Regions from separate parts of the Homo sapiens genome. Here regions 1 and 2 are each linked to region 3. The links are contacts of gene promoters, found by promoter capture Hi-C in blood cells and fetal thymus (Javierre and others, 2016). All regions are on one chromosome and are shown on one strand. Each heading gives the region's core, a stretch centred on a gene start or on the middle of the fragment in contact. The rest is flanking DNA. Distances are from core to core; before and after follow the strand shown.

Region 1 (4,104 bases), core at 1,227-3,726, 220 kb after region 3:
TTGAACCTGGGAGGCAGAGGTTGCAGCAAGTCACTGCACTCCAGCTTGGGTGACAGAGACTCCATCTCAAAAAAAAGTCTTCACTTTCTCTGTGTGTTTTACAATCTAAGAAAGGCACTACTTTTGGAGAATGGGTGCAGAGGACACTCCCACGAAGCTTGGGATCCCCCCCAGTCCTCCTACCCCAAGCCCCACCACTGGGCCACACTGGCCTCCTTCCTATTCCTTAAATAAATCCATCCCTTTTCAGACTCAGGACTGGTTTTTCCTTCTACTCTTTGTAAGACTGCCTCCCTCTCATTCTTCTGGACTTAGCTGAAATTTCATTCCCTCAGAGAGGTTTTCCATGACCTTCAATTCCTCTCCCTCATTTCAGCAGTTTTTATTGTCCTCATAATACTAAATCTAAAATTACCTTATTCATTTCCTTATTATCTGACTCTCTCACTAGGCTTTAAGCTCCATGAGGGCAGGGATTTTATCTACCATACTCATGGCTGTATGCCTAGATCCCAGCAGAATTGCCTGGCTCATATTAGGTACTTGATAAATACATACTGAATGAAATAACTAATTAATTAACAGAAATATGACAGGAACTTGGAGGTCTTGCCCGGGATGATCTGAAAGAGAGATCTTTCTGTGCATCTAGGTTTGGGTACTAGTCATGAAATAGTCCAATATTAATGGTTGCCAGCCGGCTCTAGTAATACTTGAAACCCGGCTGGGATTATAGGCATGAGCCACCATGCCCAGAGTATTTTGCTCTTTTCAATATCTAATGACAGTAGGATAAGAGAAATGAATTTAAACAAAAAACCAGCAAGCCAGAGAGAGATGTGGAAAAACTCGCCAATCTTGGGCAGATATACTCTGGATGGATGCTGTTTTGAGAATAAAGTGAAGAAGCATGGATAGAAGTGGGGAGAGCAGTCAGGAGACAAACTCAGTGACCCTGGTGCAGGATGGTGGTGGCTTGGACCACAGTATCAGCCATGGAGGTAAGAAGAAGTGATGGGAAACAGTAATAGTGCAGACAGTGATTAAGCCAGGGCCAGCTTTTTCTTCAAGTGAATAGAATGACGTAAGCCATTTCATCACAAGGGAGGTTACAGGAAACCTCTGTTTTTGTATTCTCTGCACCTCTCATGAGTGGTCAGGGCCCACTTGAAGTGATTCTAGATGAAAACTCTGCATCTCTTCTTCTGGGGCTGGGGTCCCACCCAAGAGGACAATACTGACCCACGATGAATGACAAATATACAACTCACCTTTGCAAGGTTGGGAAGGGGTAGAATGCAGGGTAGAATGAGGAGCCAGAGTTTCAGCATGGTGTTGACAGAGATCAGTAGCTTTGGATGACATATCTGGAGTCTAAGGATATCTTCAAAGTCTGAGGCTATCTAAACTGTCTTCTACAAGAAGCAATTCAACTGGGACCATTGGAGATTCCTACCTGTAGGTCTCCACATAGAGGAAAGACACAGTCTCATAGTAAATAATCATAATAACAATAGCATCATCATCAATAAGAGCAATGGTTTTCCAGAGGCTGAGCAGCTGGGGAGATGGAGAGTTGCTGTTCAATGGGTATACAATTTCAGTTATGCAAGATGAATAAGTTCTAGAAATCTGTGTACAATATGGTACATATAGTTAACAATACTATTTTGTGCACTTAAAAATTTGTTGGCCGGGCGCGGTGTATAAAGCACTTTGGGAGGCCAAGGCAGGTGGATCATGAGGTCAGGAGACTGAGACCATCCTGGCCAACATGGTGAAACCCCATCTCTACTAAAAACACAAAAATTAGCTGGGTGTGGTGGCATGCGCCTGTAGTCCCAGCTACTTGGGAGGCTGAGTCAGGAGAATCCCTTGAACCTGGGAGGCAGAGGCTGTAGTGAGCGGAGATCGTGCCACTATCCTCCAGTCTGGTGACAGAGCGAGACTCCGTTTAAAAAAATTTTTTTTGTTAAGCAGGGCCCAGTGCAGTGACTCATGCCTGTAATGCCAGTGCTTTGGGAGGCTGAGGCAGGAGGATCGCTTGAGGCCAGGAGTTTGAAACCAGCCTGGACAACATAGCAAGACCCTATCTCTACAAAAAATTTTAAAAACCACTCAGGCATGGTGGCTTGCGCCTGTAGTCCTAGCTATTCAGGAGGCTGAGATGGGAGGATTGCTTGAGCCCAGGAGTTTAAGCTAACAGTGAGCTATGATTGGGTCTCTGCACTCCAGGCTGAGCGACAGAGACCCTGTCTCAAGGAAAAAATAAATAAATAAAAGGGCTTTATCTGTTAGAGATAAAAATAGATGAAGAAAATATGGACAAATGTTAACAATTCCTAAGTCCTGGTGATGAATATATGGAAGCTCAATGTCCTGTTCTCTCTGCTTTTCTGTATGTTTTAAATATTCCATCTGGGCATGGGGTGGCTCATGCCTGTAATCCCAGCACTTTGAGAGGCCAAGACAGGAGGATTGTTTGAGCCCAGGAGTTTGAAACCAGCCTGGGAAACATGATGAGACCCTATCTCTTAAAAAAAAAAATTAGCCAGGCATGGTGGCTCATGCCTCTAGTTCCAGCTACTTAGGAGGCTGAGGTAAGAGGATTGCTTAAGCCAAGGAGTTCACGATTGCAGTGAGCACTGATCATACCATTGCACTCAAGCCTGGGTGACAAGGCAAGATCCTGCCTCAAAAATCCTAAGTAAAAATAAAAATAAATTTGCCCCAGTGAAAGTTTAAAAATGAAAAAGAATGAAAACAATGATTTATTTTTATTGAGCATCTACCATGGACTAGGTACTTTACTTACACAATCTTTTATATAAATATTTTTCTTTCTTTCTTTATGGCCAGCTCTTACTCATACTTGTATAATCTTATTTGTTTTCTTTTTTGTAGAGATTTTTAAAACTTTTTATTTAGAAATAATTATAGTTTCACAGGAAGTTGCATTAATAGTACAGAGAGGTCCTGTACGCCCTTTACCAACTTCCACTAAAGGTTAAATCTAACATAACTATATTCAATATCAAAGCCAGATAATTTATATTGGTACAATGTGTGTGTGTAGTAGTTCTATGACTTTTTTTTTCTTTCTTTTTTTTTTTTAGACCGAGTCTTGCTCTGTCGCCCAAGCTGGAGTGCAGTGGCACAATCTCGGCTCACTGCAACTTCTGCCTCCCGCCTCCCGGGTTCAAGCGATTCTCCTGTCTCGCCCTCCTGAGTAGCTGGGACTATAGGCGCATGCCACCACACCCGGCTGATTTTTTTTATTTTAGTAGAGACGGGGTTTCACCATGTTAACCAGGATGGTCTCGATCTCCTGACCTCGTGATCCACCCGCCTCGGCCTCCCAAAGTGTTGGGATTACAGGTGTGAGCCACCGCGCCTGGCTTTTTTTTTTTTTTTGAGACGGAGTCTCACTCTGTCGCCTGGGCTGGAGTGCAGTGGCACGATCTCGGCTCACTGCAACCTCCACCTCCCGGGTTCAAACGATTCTCCTGCCTCAGGCTCCTGAGTAGCTGGGGTTACAGGTGCCCGCCACTACCCCCAGCTAATTTTTTGTATTTTTAGTAGAGACGGAGTTTCACCAACAAGGCTGGTCTCGAACTCCTACCTTGTGATTCGCTCGCCTGGGCCTCCCACAGTGCTGGGATTACAGGCGTGAGCCACCGCACCCTGCCAGTTCTATGACATCTTATCACCTGTGTAGATTCTTGTAACCACCACCACAATCAGGATACAGAATTATCCATCAACACAAAGATCTCTCTTGTGCTACCCTTTACAGGTACACTTCTATCTCCCCATCAACCCTAACACTAGACAATCAGAAATCTCTTCTCCATCTCTATAATTTTGTGATTTTGAGAATGTTACTTAAATGAAATCATACAGTATGCAACCTTTCATAAGGCCCAGTAGATATTGCAAGATTCCTCTTGTAAGAAACCATCTCCTTTTCCCACGCAGTTTCTTAACTTTCCATAATGTTTCTTTTTTGCGGGGAGTGGGGGGTCGGAGTTTCACTCTTGTTGCCCAGGCTGGAGTGCAATGGTGCGATCTTGGCTCACTGCAACCTCTGCCTCCCGGGTTCAA
Region 2 (3,816 bases), core at 1,317-3,816, 190 kb after region 3:
ACAGAGTTCCACTCTTGTTGCCCAGGCTGGAGTGCAATGGCATGCTCTCGGCTCACTGCAACCTCTGCCTCTCCAATTCTCCTGCCTGAGCCTCCCAAGTAGCTGGGATTACAGGCCTGCACCACCATGCCCAGCTAATTTTTGTATTTTTAGTAGAAACAGGGCCTCACCACGTTGGCCAGGCTGGTCTTGCACTCCTAACCTCAGGTGATCTGACTGCCTCGGCCTCCCAAAGTGCTGGGATTACAGGCATGAGCCACTGCACCCGGCCTCAATTGCATTTTTCGACTCCGGAATTTCTCCTTGATTCTTTTTAATTATTTCAATTTATTTGTTAAATTTGTTGATGGGATTCTGAATTCCTTCTCTGTGGAGGAAATATTGAATTTCTTTGAGTTTCCTCAAAACAGCTATTTTGATTTCTCTGTCTGAAAGGTCACATATCTCTGTTTCTCTGGAATTGGCCCTGTGTGCCTTATTTAGTTCGTTTGGTGAGGCTGTGTTTTCCTGGATCGTCTTGAAGCTTGTGGATGTTTGTTGGTGTCTGGGCACTAAGGAGTTAGGTATTTATTATAGTCTTTGTAGTCTGGGCTTGTTTGTACTCATCCTTCTTGGGAAGGCTTTCGAGGTATTGGAAGGGGCTTGGCTGTTGTGATCTAAGTTTTGGTCACTGCAGCCATGTCTACATAAGGGGGCACTCCAAGCCTAGTAACACTGTAGTTCTTGCAGACTTTTAGAGGTTACTACCTTTGTGGTTTTGGATAACATCAGGAAGAATTCTCTGGATTACCAGGTAGAGACTCTCATTTTCTTCCCTTACTTTCTCCCAAACAAATGGAGTCTTACTCTCCGTGCTGAGCTCCCTGGAGCTGGGTGAGGTGTGACACAAGCATCCCCATGGTCACCAGAATTGGGACTGCACTGGGTCAGGCCTGAAGCCAGCACAAGACTGGGTTTTGCTCAAGGCCCGCTGTAATCACTACCTGGCTATGCCCTACGTTCGCTCAAGGCCCTAGGGCTCTGCAATCAGCAGGTGGTGAAGCCAGCCAGGCTTGTGTTCTTCCCCTTAGGGTGGTTAGTTCACTGCTGGGCCCCAGAGAGGTCCACAGTTGCTGTCCATGGGCCAGGGCCTGGAGTCGGAAACCTTAGAAATCTCTCTAGTGCTCTGTGCTACTGCAGCTAAGCTGGCACTGAAACCACAGGACACAGTCCTTCCCACTCTTCCCTCCCTTTTCCCCAGATATAGGAGTCTCTCCCCTTGTCCACCACCACCACGGGTCTATGAGGAGTACTGCCAGGGTACTACTGCTGATGTTCGCCTAAGGCCCAAAGGCCCTTCAGTCAGCTTGTGGTGAATGTGACCAGGCCTGAGACTCACCCTGCAGGGCAGCGGTCTCCCCTCTTGTTCGGCCAGATAATTCTTTGTTAGGATGTTTATCAGCATCTCTGGCCTCTATCCACTCTCCCGATTTATGACAACGGAACAATGTTCCCAGATATTACCGAATGTCCCTGGCTGGGTAAAATCGCCCCTGGTTGAGAACCACTGGTTTGTACCAATTCATTGTTCCAGAGAAATGTGACCTGCCCTTGAGTGTCTTTATCTTCCCCAACAAGAAAAGGCCTGTAGTCCCACAAGATGGACTCTAAAAGAGGGGCAGCATTCCTTTGTCAAATACATTTGAGAAGTACTGCATGCTGTGGGCCCACAGCTTGGTCAATCACCATACACAATAGCATATTAAAGGCTGTGGGAAGTTCTCCAGTGAAGAAACCTCTTTAGCCGAGATTTACCAAATGTACTTGACCTTGGAACCCTTTTCCTGTACTACCTATTAACCTTCTGCAGGACATACTGTACTTATGTTTCCCATCTGGGCCCTCTGCCCTGGTGCTTCTCCCCTTCTCTGCTTTATGGATTCCTGTTCATTCTGCATGGCCCAGCTCACAGAGTGCACCCTCTGTGAAACCTTCCTTCTCCCCTCTCATCTCCTTCCTTACCGTATATCCATACACATTCACATAATCACATCCATGTTTCGTCCATTACTCTATTGAAATTCTTGAGGACTGGGTCCTGTCTCAGTTAAATGTCAGTAGAAGATGCTCAGTAATGGCTGTTGGGAGAATTCAGAAGGGATATTCAGGTGTTTGGGCCACAGTTTTGGGAAGATGAGTCACTCCTTGCCCCCTTGTTTCCCCACTTGGTGTGTAGAGTTCTTCTCTGCTATGGTCTTCCGGAGTCATTTCCCTTCTCCAGCCCTGATCTGGCAGAGTTTGAAGCGGTGGGGTCATGTCTTTGCTGCAGATGCTCAGTCGATGCTTACGGAAGGAAGAAAGGAAGAGAGGAAGGGAATTAGAACCTAGTGACTTTCTAGGAAGAAGGCTAGAGAGCAGAGGTTAAGTACCCTGCTTTCAGGAGAAAAGCCTCCTAAGAGCACTTACTCCCAAGTTTTAATATCTGGGAGAAGTGATCTATTTTTCCCTGCACCTAGTACCTAGGTGTACCAGAGTTGTGGTGAGGCCACAGTCAGAAAATTCACTTAAAGCACCAGCACCGGCTGGGCGCGGTAGCTCACGTCTGTAATCCCAGCACTTTGGGAGGCTGAGGCGGGCGGATCACGAGGTCAGGAGATCAAGACCATCCTGGATAACACGGTGAAACCCCGTCTCTACTAAAAATACAAAAAATTAGCGGGGCGTGGTGGCGGGCGTCTGTAGTCCCAGCTACTCGGGAGGCTGAGGCAGGAGAATGGCGTGAACCCAGGAGGCGGAGCTTGCAGGGAGCCGAGATTGCGCCACTGCATTCCAGCCTGGGCAACAGAGCGAGACTCTGTCTCAAAAAAAAAAAAAAAGAAAAAAGAAAAAGCACCAGCACCATGCCTGATACATACTAAGTGCTCAGTAAATGTAGGCTCTGACTTTACCGGCTTCTGCCCCTAAGATGGCCAGTTTTGAACTTGGGGCAGCTTGCTGCTGGGGCAGGGGGAGGGGGCTGAAATAAGGAGGACTAGGCCAACTGCCCACTCACTTGTGTCCCCTGCAGGAGCTGGAGGATCTTCAGAAGAAGCCTCCCCCATACCTGCGGAACCTGTCCAGCGATGATGCCAATGTCCTGGTGTGGCACGCTCTCCTCCTACCCGTGAGTATCCATGGGGACCATGGCTTTGGATTGGGGCCAAATTAGGCCAGGGACATGGGCAGGGAGGGTTAGGACTAGGCAAGAATTTTCCCTGCTTGAGATCCTTTTACTGGAGGTTATCATTGCTGGAGGGGGCTTCTCTCTGAATTGATTGCTTCTGAGATCCAGATACTTCTGAGGTTCACCTTCTGATAAAGATGCCAAAGGACTTTTGACTTAGTAGGAGACCCCTTCCTTAAACCGGTAGCCACCAAGCCCACCACAGAACTTCAGGAGACAAACAGCATCAAAAAGAAGAAGAAATAAAGATTTCTTGGACCTTTGTCAAGGGGTAGGGATAAACTTCCAGGCTCTCACAGTTGGGAGAATTTGCTCCCGCAAACCTAAATTGTATTTTGTTTTTCTGTAGTCTTATTTCAGAAAATTGTTACATATGAAAACACAAATAGCTCATTTCTACTGTTCTTATTTTTCTCTGTTTATTATTTGGTATTTTCTTGATAAAGTCTCTCTGAAAGCAGTATTCCAAAATAGTTTTCAGAGTGCAAGATCTCTCTTTTTTTCATCCGATTATTAGTGACTAAAGATACTTTGAGAAATTAATCTACACTTTTCATTACTTGGAAATAAAATTTAAGACATTGAACTTTTTGTTAGTCAAAGCTCTTTGGAAT
Region 3 (3,993 bases), core at 1,480-3,979:
AAAGAGAAGAAGAAAAAGAAAATCAGTCCAAGTGCGGTAGCTCACGCCTGTAATGCCAGCACTTTGGGAGGCCAGGGTGGGTGGATCACCTGAGGTCAGGAGTTCGAGACCAGCCTGGCCAACATGGTGTAACCCTGGCTCTACTAAAAATACAAAACTTAGCTGGGCATGGTGGCATATGCCTGTAATCCCAGCTACTCAGGAGGCTGAGGCAGGAGAATTGCTTGAACCCTGAGGTGGAGGTTGCAGTGAGCCAAGATCACGCCTTGCACTCCAGCGTGGACAAGAAGAGCGGAACTCTGTTTCCAAAAAATAAATAAATAAATAAATAAAAGAAAAACAATTAAATCAGCCAGGCATGGTGGCACTTGCCTATAGCCCCAGCTACTCGGGAGGCTGAGGTGGAAGGATTGCTGGAGCTCCAGAGGTCGAGGCTGCAGTGAGCCGGGATCGCGTCACATCCTGGGCAACATTAATTACCTTTTTTTTTTTTTTCTGAGACTGAGTCTTGCTCTGTCACCCAGGCTGGAGTGCAGTGGCGTCATCTCGGCTCAGTGAAACCTCTGCCTCCCGGGTTCAAACGATTCTCCTGCCTCAGCCTCCCGAGTTGCTGGGATTACAGCACGCGCCACCAGGCCCGGCTAATTTTTTGTATTTTTGTAGAGACGGGGTTTCACCATGTTGGCCAGGCTGGTCTCTAACTCCTGACCTCGTGATCCGCCCCCCTCAGCCTCCCAAAGTCCTGGGATTACAAGCGTGAACCACCGCGCCAGGCCTAATTAACATTTTTTTAAAAAATCATCTCTGTAACGATAATGGAGACCGTTCGCGGGGGCGGGGGGGGGGATTTTCTGCAAAACCCCTGGGTCATTAGTTCTCCAAGATTTGGGGTTGGAGTGGAATCAGTGAAGAAACTGAATTCAGAAACTGCCCAAGGACCTTATTCCATAACATCTCTGGTCTTAGGAGATTTCTAAATTAGCCATATGGGGGACCCGGTGTTACCAGAGCCATCCAGAGACTTCCATCACGAAACATGGAGCGCTCCAGGCAGAGCCAAGGGCATCTACTGCCTCTTCAAAGGGAAGACGGACATGACCCTTAACCGCCTTGGCGCCTGCTCTACTACAGCATCCCTACCCTCTTTTTCGGTGTGTTTTCATCAAGTGCTGAGGCAGACGACGGCTTTCACAAGAATTCCTCCCTGACGGGCCCATCCCCCTGCCTCTTGCAGCCCAGCCATCTTCCCTCAGCCCTCAAGTCCCTCGAGACTTAGCCTCCCGCCCAAAGCGCTCCTCCTGTTCTGATTGGTTCTCCCGGGAGCCTTCGGCCAATGGGGATGACGTATGCCGGACGACGTAGGCCCGAGGACTCGGGAGGAGGAGGGGCGTAGGGCTCTGCGACGCGCAGCGCGCTAGGACGGTGGCACGAGGTGTGTGGCGCTGGCCGCGTGGCCTTACAACCCTCGCTATCACTACCACCCAGTGCATGTGGGTGCTGAAGCCCGCAGGGATACAAGGGCGCCAGGGGCTGCCTGCAAAGTCTATGCTGGCGGAGGTGGCCGTGACGGGAAGTCCTGACTTTGGGCCTCCCGGATCCCCACGGTCCATTCCCAGAAACCCTCGCGCCTAGGAGTCTTTCTTCAAAGGAGTTGGGCCAGGGCGCCCAAGCGTGCGGGCCACCCCGCTTTGCAGGGCTCTCCCTGAAGCCCTGCTTTCTCCGCCAACACCGATTCCCTTGCTTCTGGATGGGGAGGTGAAGCACTCAGCCGTTGGCCCACCTGCGCATCTTTGCTCAGCCTCCTGACTCAACGCTGAACATTGAGAGGAAGCAAGGCAGGCTGGACAGAGGACAAGCACAGAGAAGGCAACAGGAGCAAAGTCTACCGAAAAGCTATTTCAAGTTGGGTCTGGAGGCAAGGCCAGGCGATCGTGGATTGAGAAGCTTCCCCAGGGCCCTTGCAACAGCTGCCATCCTCCATCCACATCTCTCTCACTGGGATGGGAATTTTTTTTTTTTTTTTGAGACGGAGTCTCGCTCTGTCGCCCAGGCTGGAGTGCAGTGGCTCTATCTACAACCTCTGCCTCCCAGGTTCAAGCGATTCTCCCACCTCAGCCTCCTGAGTAGCTGAGATTACAGGCGCCTGCCACCATGCCCGGCTAATTTTCGTATTTTTGTAGAGACGGGGAGTCACCATGTTGGCCAGGCTGGTCTCAAACTCCTAACCTCAGGTGATCCACCCGCCTCGGCCTCCCAAAGTGCTGGGATTACAGGCGTGAGCCACCCCGCCCAGCCAAGCCCGCCTTCTCTTAATTTACCTTTTCATTCTTCTTTCCTGATAGTTTTGACGTGAACTGTTCGGACCCTCAGTGCTACCTGATAGAAAACTGCATTCCAGGAAAGGAACACAGCTGTGCAGTGAGTGGGGGGGTTTCGGAGCTAAAAAGCTGGACATAAGCCTGAAGTCAGAATACTCAGTTTGTTTTGGGAGGGGTAAAATGCTTTACTATCCTTGCTGCATTGTTAGCCTGGTAATTAACTATACAAACGTAAAGGCCAAATTCTTTGCCTACTACCAGGGTCAGTCAGGCTCGCTTTGGTCAAGTACACCCAGCCAAGGGTGGCAACGTCCTTGGTTCTGTGAGAGACCTTCCCGCAGAGTCAGAGGCTTCTCTTCTTTATTGTGCACCCTCTGCTGGTTAGTGTGATACAGTGAGCTCAGAGAAAAGGCGCATACGACTTACTAGAGATAATTTTATACCCAGTAATGTTTCCTTAAAAGTGTTAACTTGAAGATTATACCTGTGGAGCTGGGATGTGGTGCTCAGGAAGAATATAAGTAGTCAGCATTGTAGCAGTTGAGTCTCAGTGGTAATGGAAATGAGGAAGGTTGAAGGATAATAATAGTTACCATTTGGGGCTTGGTAGTTATTTTGTGCCAGGCACTCACTGTGCTAAGCAACTTTACCTTCACTGACTCATTTAATCTTTAAAACAACCCTACAAGGTAAGTACTATTATTCTATTTCATGGATAGGAAAGTGAGACTCAGAGAAGTTAGGTCACCTGTGTGAGATTATACAGCCAGGCTAATAAATAGAGCCAAGACCCAAACCTAGGCTTATCTCTGAGCTCCCACATGTAACCACTATGATAATTTTCTTTCTTGAGATATCCTTGGCACAATTTCTGGGCTGATGTTTCCTCAACTCATACTATTATCTCTCACTTTCAAAATTCCCCTGCCATTTCAAAGACAAAAAACAAATTAGATGTAACCATGCCTCTGAAATGTATTATCTCACCTACAGGAGTCTGATCTGTGAAAACCTAGAAGGTTTGTTAAGACTCTTGCCAACATGTGCTCTCCTGCCAGTCCCAAAATCCTATACAGGAACCCCCGGTTCCTCAGGTTAGCTTTTCTGCAGCTTCATCACCAGCAGCAGAGTGATGTGTTCTGTGATGTCCTTCTGCAGGCAGAAGGTAAGAGAGTGGTCGGAATTCAACTGAAAACTCACCATAGAATAAGATAAAATGAGTTCAGAGCCAGAGGGTAAAGGACAAAATCAGCAAAATATTACTGCCTATGACCACTGTAAACTATTTGGTAAAGGGCTGTTTGTTTCTAGGACAATTACTACTGTTTTCAAGAGTGAAATTGTGACTTTGCTTCTTTCTCTTAAATAATGAATCTAATTGTAAAGTTTTATAAGCAGATACATTCTATATAACATGGATAATATTCCAATGGGATGGTTGTGAAGATTAAGAGTTAATGTGGGTAAGCACTTAGAATAGTGCTTTTAATATACTAACCACAATATGTGTTAGATGATACTATTATGTTTTCTTTTTGAGAGTCTCACTCTCTTGCCCAGGCAGGAGTGTGGTGGCACAATCACAGCTACCTGCAACCTCCACCTCCTGGGTTCAAGTGATTCTCATGCCTTAGCTTTCTCAAGTAGCTGAGATTACAGGCATGCGCCACTACGC

What was found. Contacts are between HindIII fragments. The CHiCAGO score rates a contact against its expected background, and 5 or more counts as called.
Region 1: a fragment that was not itself captured here is called in contact with the fragment with the promoter of BTBD18 in region 3 in 9 of 17 cell types (fetal thymus, naive CD4 T cells, total CD8 T cells and 6 more); the score reaches 10.9 in fetal thymus.
Region 2: a fragment that was not itself captured here is called in contact with the fragment with the promoter of BTBD18 in region 3 in 1 of 17 cell types (naive CD8 T cells); the score reaches 5.0 in naive CD8 T cells.

The regions. Positions count from the first base shown.
Region 1 is chr11:57,532,570-57,536,673 of GRCh38, reverse strand. No RefSeq gene overlaps it. Among named protein-coding and RNA genes, the nearest start is that of SMTNL1, 3.0 kb to the left of the region's middle. The HindIII fragment of the contact is 4,634 bases long and covers 160-4,104 here.
Region 2 is chr11:57,559,663-57,563,478 of GRCh38, reverse strand. It overlaps UBE2L6 (ubiquitin conjugating enzyme E2 L6), which reads left to right. Exons shown (of 4, transcript NM_004223.5): 2 at 3,047-3,142. Among named protein-coding and RNA genes, the nearest start is that of UBE2L6, 6.1 kb to the left of the region's middle. The HindIII fragment of the contact is 4,082 bases long and covers 526-3,816 here.
Region 3 is chr11:57,750,555-57,754,547 of GRCh38, reverse strand. BTBD18 (BTB domain containing 18) reads left to right here and starts at 2,729. Exons shown (of 3, transcript NM_001145101.3): 1 at 2,729-3,007; 2 at 3,312-3,483. The coding sequence starts at 3,360. All of the region lies in intron 2 of TMX2-CTNND1 (TMX2-CTNND1 readthrough (NMD candidate)), which reads right to left. The HindIII fragment of the contact is 11,151 bases long and covers 1,947-3,993 here.